2 separate regions of the Homo sapiens genome follow, and region 1 is linked to region 2. Evidence: promoter capture Hi-C in 16 types of primary human blood cells and fetal thymus (Javierre and others, 2016). All regions are on one chromosome and are shown on one strand. The core of a region is centred on a gene start or on the middle of the fragment in contact, and the rest is flanking DNA. Distances in the headings are between cores, read along the strand shown. Region 1 holds the start of DROSHA (drosha ribonuclease III). Region 2 holds the start of TARS1-DT (TARS1 divergent transcript).

What was found. Contacts are between HindIII fragments. The CHiCAGO score rates a contact against its expected background, and 5 or more counts as called.
Region 1: the fragment with the promoter of DROSHA here is called in contact with the fragment with the promoter of TARS1-DT in region 2 in 2 of 17 cell types (naive CD8 T cells and total B cells); the score reaches 5.9 in naive CD8 T cells.

Annotation. Positions count from the first base shown.
Region 1 is chr5:31,530,413-31,534,436 of GRCh38, forward strand. It overlaps DROSHA (drosha ribonuclease III), which reads right to left and starts at 1,681. Exons shown (of 36, transcript NM_001382508.1): 1 at 1,578-1,681; 2 at 1,038-1,113; 3 at 386-512. C5orf22 (chromosome 5 open reading frame 22) reads left to right here and starts at 1,889. Exons shown (of 9, transcript NM_018356.3): 1 at 1,889-2,061; 2 at 3,860-4,005. The coding sequence starts at 1,981. RefSeq lists enhancers at 1,761-1,930, 1,961-2,010, 2,061-2,110. The HindIII fragment of the contact is 13,099 bases long and covers 1-4,024 here.
Region 2 is chr5:33,438,123-33,442,146 of GRCh38, forward strand. It overlaps TARS1-DT (TARS1 divergent transcript), which reads right to left and starts at 2,512. Exons shown (of 3, transcript XR_001742630.2): 1 at 2,083-2,512. It overlaps TARS1 (threonyl-tRNA synthetase 1), which reads left to right and starts at 2,843. Exons shown (of 19, transcript NM_152295.5): 1 at 2,843-3,021. The coding sequence starts at 2,965. RefSeq lists enhancers at 2,189-2,776, 2,431-2,740, 2,841-3,030, 3,291-3,350, 3,365-3,951. The HindIII fragment of the contact is 5,282 bases long and covers 1,281-4,024 here.

The DNA of each region.
Region 1 (4,024 bases), core at 431-2,930, 1.9 Mb before region 2:
CTATTGACTCTGGACCCAGGCTTGTTCTCCAGTACCTTCCCCAGAAAGACCCTACTACCCCATGTTTTCCCAACAGATTACCATTCGAGTACAAAGAACCAGCTAGTTCTTTGCTCCCGTTCTCCTCTCTAAAATCTCCCACCCTAGGCAGAGGTTGCAGTGAGTTCAGATCGCGCCATTGCACTCCAGCCTGGGCAACAAGAGCGAAACTCTAGCTCAAAAAAAAAAAAAAAAAAAAATCTCCCAACGTATGAATCTGCCCAGTGATTTTCTATCCATCTATCAATCTTAAATGCCACCTCCTCTATGAAGCCCTTCCTGATTCCCTTAGGTAATCCCATTCCCTCTAGACTTAGTCTATACTTAATCCTTTTACAGCACTTACCAGAGACTGCCTCATATCATAGTGAAGTATGCACACGTCTAACTCTTCCACTAGATTATCAGCTCCTTGATGATATGGGTTGATTCACAGTCATTTCTGTATCCTTCACATCCCCGGGAAAAGCAACCTACACACAGTAGGTGGTCAATAAATGTTTACTCTCTCACCAATAGTATGTTTCCATGTTGCTACTGTACATTTCCCTTCCATGTACCTCCGCAACAGAAAGCAGGCCTTTTCACTGAGTCATGCAATATTTAATGAGCCCATAAATGGGAAGCACTGTCCCAGGCCCTGTAGACTCAGAGATAATAAGACACACAGCCTGTAGGATTCAAGGAACTCAGAACCCACGTACAAGTAAGTGTTTTAAAAATACAAAATAATGCAATAAACACACAAAAAAGAGGTATGTGCAGGGCTTAGGGGAACACAAAGGTGTGTGCCGCACCTAGAGGTGGGCAAAAGTCAGGGTCACGAACACTCTTGTACAGTGTGTAACAAGAGCTGAACATTCACTGCCAGATCCTCATGGATGTTTCAGTAGTTAGAAAATCTAAAAATACTAATCATGAAATTGACCTATTGAAGGCATAGTCCGGCTGTGTTGTGGATGCAGACTTTAATTCAAAAGTCAAGGAATTCACTGCACCTGGAAAAGTAACTCTCTTTTCTCCGTCTGTCTCTTCTCGGTTGCGGTTTGGAAACAGAGACACTGAAGGAGCTGTCTTGAATAGTTAACACGGCCAGAACGTCAGTGCATGTAAAAAGAATTTTAAAGTGTGACTACATTTTTATTGAGAACTCCCTCTTTCCCCAGGTGGATCTGCAGGGCAGTCACCTTCATCCTGATCCATAACTGCACATTTACTGTTTGCATCTCCCGCCAGACGGTACGCCCCACGAGGCAGGCGCTGAGCTCAGGATCTCACTCCCCTCCGAGAGCCGGGCGGCCCCAGGCCTGGACCATAGTGTGTGCTCCACAAATGAATGAAAGGTCTCCTTTTTCACTTCCACTTATTTGCGGGATCCAGGCCTAGCGTCGCTCTTTTGCCCTTAGCTGCAGATCTGAAGTGGGGCTGCCCGACCCCAATTCCCGGACGCTTTTCACCCCAGCCCCGGAGACTCCAGCCCCGTTTAAATCCTGACACTCGGAAACTCTCTTCTAACACTTGCAAGGTACCCCTTTTACCTATAAAAGGCTCTCGGGCCGCGAGATCGCCGTCAGAGCAAAGCCAGGCTACTACCGCAGGTACCAAGACAGTGGCACCGCCCGCGCCTCCGGAACAGGAAACCGAGGGAATTAAAAAGCAAACCTGAGAAAGCTGGGCCAAGGGAGGGAAAACTCTTCAGCCCACCGCAGGGCCTTGTGCGCGGTGATTGGCGCGTCAACGAAAGCGATGGACGTCTAGACCAATCGTCAGCAAAAGACCCTTTGGAGCCCGCGCCCCCTCCCCCTACGTCCTCCAATCCGAAAACGCAACCGGGTGAGGGAGCGCTTCCGCCCGGAGAGAGCTGGCCGGGATGAGGCGCCGGCTTTCCCGGGTCTTCTCCAGCTGCCACCGCTTTACTGCAAAACTGACGGGCGCAAAAACATGAGTGACTCCGCGGGAGGGCGCGCTGGTCTCCGGCGTTACCCCAAGCTCCCAGTGTGGGTGGTGGAGGATCATCAGGAGGTGAGCGGACGGCAACAGGGCTCTGGGGCAGAATCAGCGGAAGCCCTGACGCTCAGAGGGCCAAGCAGAGGGCGCAACCTTAGCATCGGAGGCCAGAGAGTTAACCAGAGTTAAACTGCCCTATTCCGTTGCTGTGGAGAGGACCCCAAAACAGCTAACTAGGAAGAATGAGAACTGACATTTATGGGCGCTTCCTACGAGTCGGGGCAACTTATTTACCTCGGTTTGCCCCCAAATCCCAGAACCAAACAAAAGGTGGCATCGGGATTCGAAACCGGACAGTCTGGCTGCAGAGCCCTGTGTTCTTAACCTGCAGTTAACTCTGGCTTCCAAGTATCTCCTGGAATCGCCACCACAGCCCTGCTGTTTAGATGGGAGGCTTTATGCTTGGAACGTGGGCTCTGATCTGAAATGGGGACAGTAATCGTAGGACTCACAGGGCTCTTAGGAGTATTATTGTGTGCATACTGTGTTTAAAAATCTTTTTTTTTTCTTTTTTGAGACGGAGTCTCTCTCTGTTACCCAGACTGGAGTGCAGTGGCGCGATCTCGGCTCACTGCAACCTCCGCCTCCTGGGTTCGAGCGATTCTTCTGTCTCAGCCTCCTGAGTAGCTGGGATCACAGGCACGCATCACCGTACCCAGCTAATTTTTGTATTTTTAGTAGAGACGGGGCTTCGCCACGTTAGCCAGGATGGTCTGAAAGTCTGACCTCACGTGATCGGCCCCCGCCGGCCTCCCAAAGTGCTGGGATTGCAGGCGTGAGCTACTGCGCACGGCCCATATTGCGTAAAAAAAAAAAAAAATTTAACACGGTGCCCTGCATAGATAAACACTAAAAGGGGTTTCCATGTTTATGGCCGTGCTGATTTACAGTAGCCAAATTGGTGTCTTAATCTAGACTTTTCCAAGTCAACAAAGGAGGCCCATGGATCTAATAAATATGTTTTAAAGTAGCATCAGTAGGCTTGGGATGGGAGGCAGTTCTCTGGACGTTAAAAAAGAAGAGGGATTTACTGTTGGTGACAGCTAATAGGAGAGGAAGATAGGTTTCTCAGGACCTGGATATAGTGTCTATGACCTTGAGAGAATGAGAAAGCCTAGGTTAGACGGTGCTTTCAAATTAGGTATTAAACCTAGAATTAGAGAAGATGTAAGAGGAGAAATGGCCTTTATAGACCACCTAGCCCAACCCCACCATTCTAAGTGTACCAAAAAGACCCTAACCAGCCTGGACAGCAGAGCGAAATCCCATCTCTACAAAAATAGAAGTGAAAAAATTAGCTGGGCGTAGTGGTGCGTGCCTGTAATCCCAGCTACTCAGGAGACTGAGGTGGGAGGATCGTGTGAACCCAGGAGTCCAAGGCTGCAGTGAGCCATGATCACACCACTGCTTTCCAGGCTGGGCAACTGACAAGCCCCTATCCCTTTTTAAAGGAAAAAAAAGAATACTTTGAGACCTAGGGTACCTTGAACACCTAGTTAATGTTAGAACAGGCATTAAGCGGTAGTTTGTTCCTGAGCCCCAGTCCTGGTCTGTTTCCCCACATGACCTGTTGAGTTCAAGGGGGCAGCAGGAAGGCCGCTGGAGATGCAGGTTGGAAGTTCTGAGGACAAAGTAATGCTTGAGATTATCATCTGCACCATCTACAGTAAACAAATTTTATGTTTTTCCACTTTACAGCAACATAGTATGCTTTCAATTATGTGCATTATTTAGCATTGTTTTTCAGTCTGCAGTTGAGTGTGTGCTCATGGTTTCAGTGTTAATTCTTATTGTGTGCCTGTGTCTTTTACAGGTTCTACCCTTTATATACCGGGCCATAGGCTCAAAGCATCTTCCTGCCAGTAATGTAAGTTTTTTACATTTCGACTCACATCCAGACCTCCTTATTCCTGTGAATATGCCAGCAGACACCGTGTTTGATAAGGAAACACTCTTTGGGTAATATGTGATTTTATTT
Region 2 (4,024 bases), core at 1,262-3,761:
AAGAGCTTAAGCTCAGGAGTTTGAGACAAGTCTGGGTAACATAGTGAGACCTCATGTCTACTAAAAATTAAAAAATATATATATTAGCCGAGCGTGGTGGTGTGCACCTGTAGTCCCAGCTGTTCAGGAGACTGTGGCGAGGGGATCAATTGAGCCTGGGAGATCAAGGCTGCAGTGAGCTGTGATCACACCACTGCACTCCAGCCTGGGCAACAGAGCAAGACTCTGTCTCAAAAATAAATAAATGGATAGATAGATAGAATAAAAAATAAGAAAAAATTAACTGGGTGTGGTGGTGTGTGCCTGCAGTCCTACCTACTTGGGAAGCTGAGGCAGAAGGACTGCTTGAGTACAGCAGTTTGAGTCTGTAGTGAGCTATGATTGTGCCACTGCACTCCAGCCTGGGTAATGGAGCAAGACCTCATCTCAAAGAAAAAAGAAAAGAAAAGGACTATTATTAAAATCAAGGTGTCAGCTAAAGAGCAGTTATATATATATACACACACACACACACACACACACATATGTATATGTGTATACATATATATGTAATCTGCAAATTAGGTAGCTAATATTGCATAACTCTGTTCTCCTAGCACCTTTTCAAGTTACCCTTAGCCTTTGTCAGGACCTCGCTAGACTAGATTCTTTACCTAGAAGGATAGCCCAAACCTTCCTTCCTTCCTTGTCTTTGTTGGGTTCCCAGAGTTTTCCAACAGCGAAACATTAGACAAGGAAGTACTAAAAAAGGTCTCAGTGAATCTCCTGGGTTCTTGACAAAATTCTCCTTTATGTAGAAGAAACCCGCTTGTCCCCTTGTAATCAGGATCAATCACTCTGGACAGAAAAACAACCCCCAATTCTGCCTGTGAGTGTAGCAGTACGTGAAGCCCCACATAGGGTGTACTCTTAGGCCAACTGATCAGAACCATTACTGTGCATATATATATATATAATATATGTATATACATATACGTATGTGTATATGTGTGTGTGTGTGTATATATATATATATATACACATATATAGTAAACTTGCTTAGCTCTAAATACACACATAGTGAAAGAACAAGTTGAACCGGTAAGTTCTACCAAGAACCACATGAAACTACCAGCAGACACTATTGTAAGCGCCAAGGGGACCTTTCTCCTTGGCCCTCTGAGGTTTGGCTGAAAATCACTAACATGAGGAACATTAATAGAAAAAACATACAAATTTACTTAACGTGTATACACAGGAAGAATCACAGCGTGATTACCCACCCCTCAGAGGGCTTCAGAAGCTTGTGGATACAATCCCAGCGACACAGGTTATGATAGGGAGAAGAGGAATTCTGTTGAGGGATTACAAAGGAGAATGAATGTATCAGGAACACATTAATTTGTACAACATCTTGTGAAAGGGTCTGCTCAGGTGTGATTACTACATTCTTGGTCTTACAGGGAGGCAACAAAAACAATTATGTTCCTTGTGATGTGTCTAAACTTTATCCTTTGCTTTGGCAGAGATGGCGTGGGGATTTAGGGGAGTGGGACCTTGAGGCTTCTTCAGTTCAGATGTCAAAACGCCATTATTTGGGGGTATGTTTCTGCGCCTCCAACACTGTTTAACAGGGAGGCTTGTTTCATCCAGTAAGGGAGTCAAGAAATGGTTCCCCGAAGAAAACGATTCTTGAAATCTGACAATAAATGAGGTGTCAAACAGGCAAAAAGTGTGTCGGAATGAGCACGGATGAGGGTAGGGTGGAAAAATCTTGGTACTTAGTCTGTGGGAAGACCTGAGGAAAAAAAGCCACTACAGTTTATAGTTCAGTGTATGGTGGGCGAACGAGATGAAGCCGAAAACTTGGACAATCAGGGATTGTCCAAGAGCAAGGGAAAGCCACCAAAGATTTTTCAGCAGATTGCCGTGATCATATTTGTATTTGAAGACTACAACGATGCTGTATGAAAAATGGATGCACAAAGCCGAATTGGGAAGCTATTGTTCCTGGAAAGTATAACCCTGAAGGCGGAGAGTTGTAGAGAACAGAACTGATGTTTAAAAAGAAAAATCCACAAAACGTGGTGGTGGAGCACGTACCTGAAGTTATGCCTATTGCGCTTCTGATTTCAAATAAGTAATTGTTTTAAATTGCCTACTAACATAAAAAAGCCCAGTCGATTCCAAACACTGGCACCCAGGCGTGAGAATCCATGGTTATTTCCTTGGGTGAGCTTTATTGTATTTTTGCGGGCGCTATGGAAATGCTCCTCCAGGCAGTACAGATCAGCAGCGGCTCGTAGTGAAGAACGTTCAAGGAAGAGTTTGTCCCGGATCAACAGGACATGGGGCTTGGGAAGCCTGGACTGCCATGAGGAAGGTCGATTCACCACTACAGACAGGGAGCCTGAGGCCTGGGTGGTGCCGACAAGTCGGCAGTCACGCCAGGTCAGGAAGCGCCGAAGCCGCGGGAAACCCTGGACTCCATCCCGGGATTTGTCCCCGTGTCGAAGATGGTATCCAGGTCGCCGAAAACTTCCCGGAAGTTTAGACCAAGACCTACTTATTATCTACGGTGTCCGGGAAGGTCCATGATTGTTCCACATAAAGTCAGAAGGGAGGAAAGGCGCACGCGCATTGGGGACTTGACTCTGGAAAGCGTCCAGACCAAGGTCAGCGGAGAGTAGGCATGTAGCTTCTGCAGTTGCTCCTCCTCACCCTCCGCGACCTGATTTCCTAGAAGGGCTCTGTCACCCGAAAAGATTTTCCACTGGCTTAGAGGAGGGAGGGCCCGCCTTCCCCCGTTATCCATTGGCTGCTCGTTCCGCCGCAAGTTGGGGGCGGGGTTAGGGCGCCTTTCGATTGCATCAGCTGGTCCAGCCGAGGCCAAGTCCCGGGCGCTAGCCCACCTCCCACCCGCCTCTTGGCTCCTCTCCTCTAGGCCGTCGCTTTCGGGTTCTCTCATCGCTTCGTCGTTCGCCAATGTTTGAGGAGAAGGCCAGCAGTCCTTCAGGGAAGATGGGAGGCGAGGAGAAGCCGGTGAGCAAACTTGGTGGGACCCAGAGACCAGCCTGGGACTCTAGTGGGTGCAGACGCTACGCTCGCGGCGGGAGCGGGGGGCAGGAAGCAGGAAGCGGCCGGGACCGCGTGGGTCGGAGAAGTGGGGGATGGTGGGACTCCTGGAAAGTCGGAACCCCCTTTGGGAACCATCCATTCATAAATTAGGGTGGGGCCTTGCAGTTCATCTGTGGGTCCATTCTCTTTACAGATGAGGAAACAGACCTTGAGTGAGCGACTTGTTCAGAGCCTCACATCTACAGTAGTTAGACGCGGAGACAGAATCAGAATCTTAGGCTTGAGGCTTCCAAACTTGCGTTTATGGCTTACTGTAAGCGGGAAACACATTGCAGAGCCTTATTTAATCAATCTCCTAAGATCCTGCGGGGGTAAAGAGCTCCATTTTAAGGAAAGGAAAACCGAGTGCCCGAGATCTGACCCAGCTTGTCCAAGTTTGGGTGGTTAAGTATACATTTTGCCCGGCACTGATCTGGGCGGTGCATGTGGGAAGATGAATAGGGCCCAGTTCCCCGACTTTGAGGGCCTCACAGGCTGATGTGTAAGAGACAGGAAAACAGCCCTAGTGCTTTGTGATCAACCTTGTGGTATTACAGAAGAGGAAGTTTAGGAAGGCACTTTAGAATTTAGTTTGGAAGAATGATTTCACCAGGTAAACAGGCAGGACGGGGCTTCCCACGTAAAGGTAGGGAAGGCAGTGAAAAGGGGCACGCAGGTGAATTGTCTTTCGGGTTGTTTGCAAGAGATATGCCAGAAGGGTTAAAGGAACAGTAATCAGAAGGATCTTAGGCAACAAGGATGTTTGAAACTTGTATTCTATACATGAAGGATCTTAAGCAGGAAGATTGTATTTGTAAAAGTCACGCTGGCATTGGGATAGAAGGTTAGGCCACATGCAGAAGGCTGTTGTAATAGTCCAAGTGAGAAGTGGTGACGTCTTCAGCTAAGGGATCCTCTATCCCAAGTC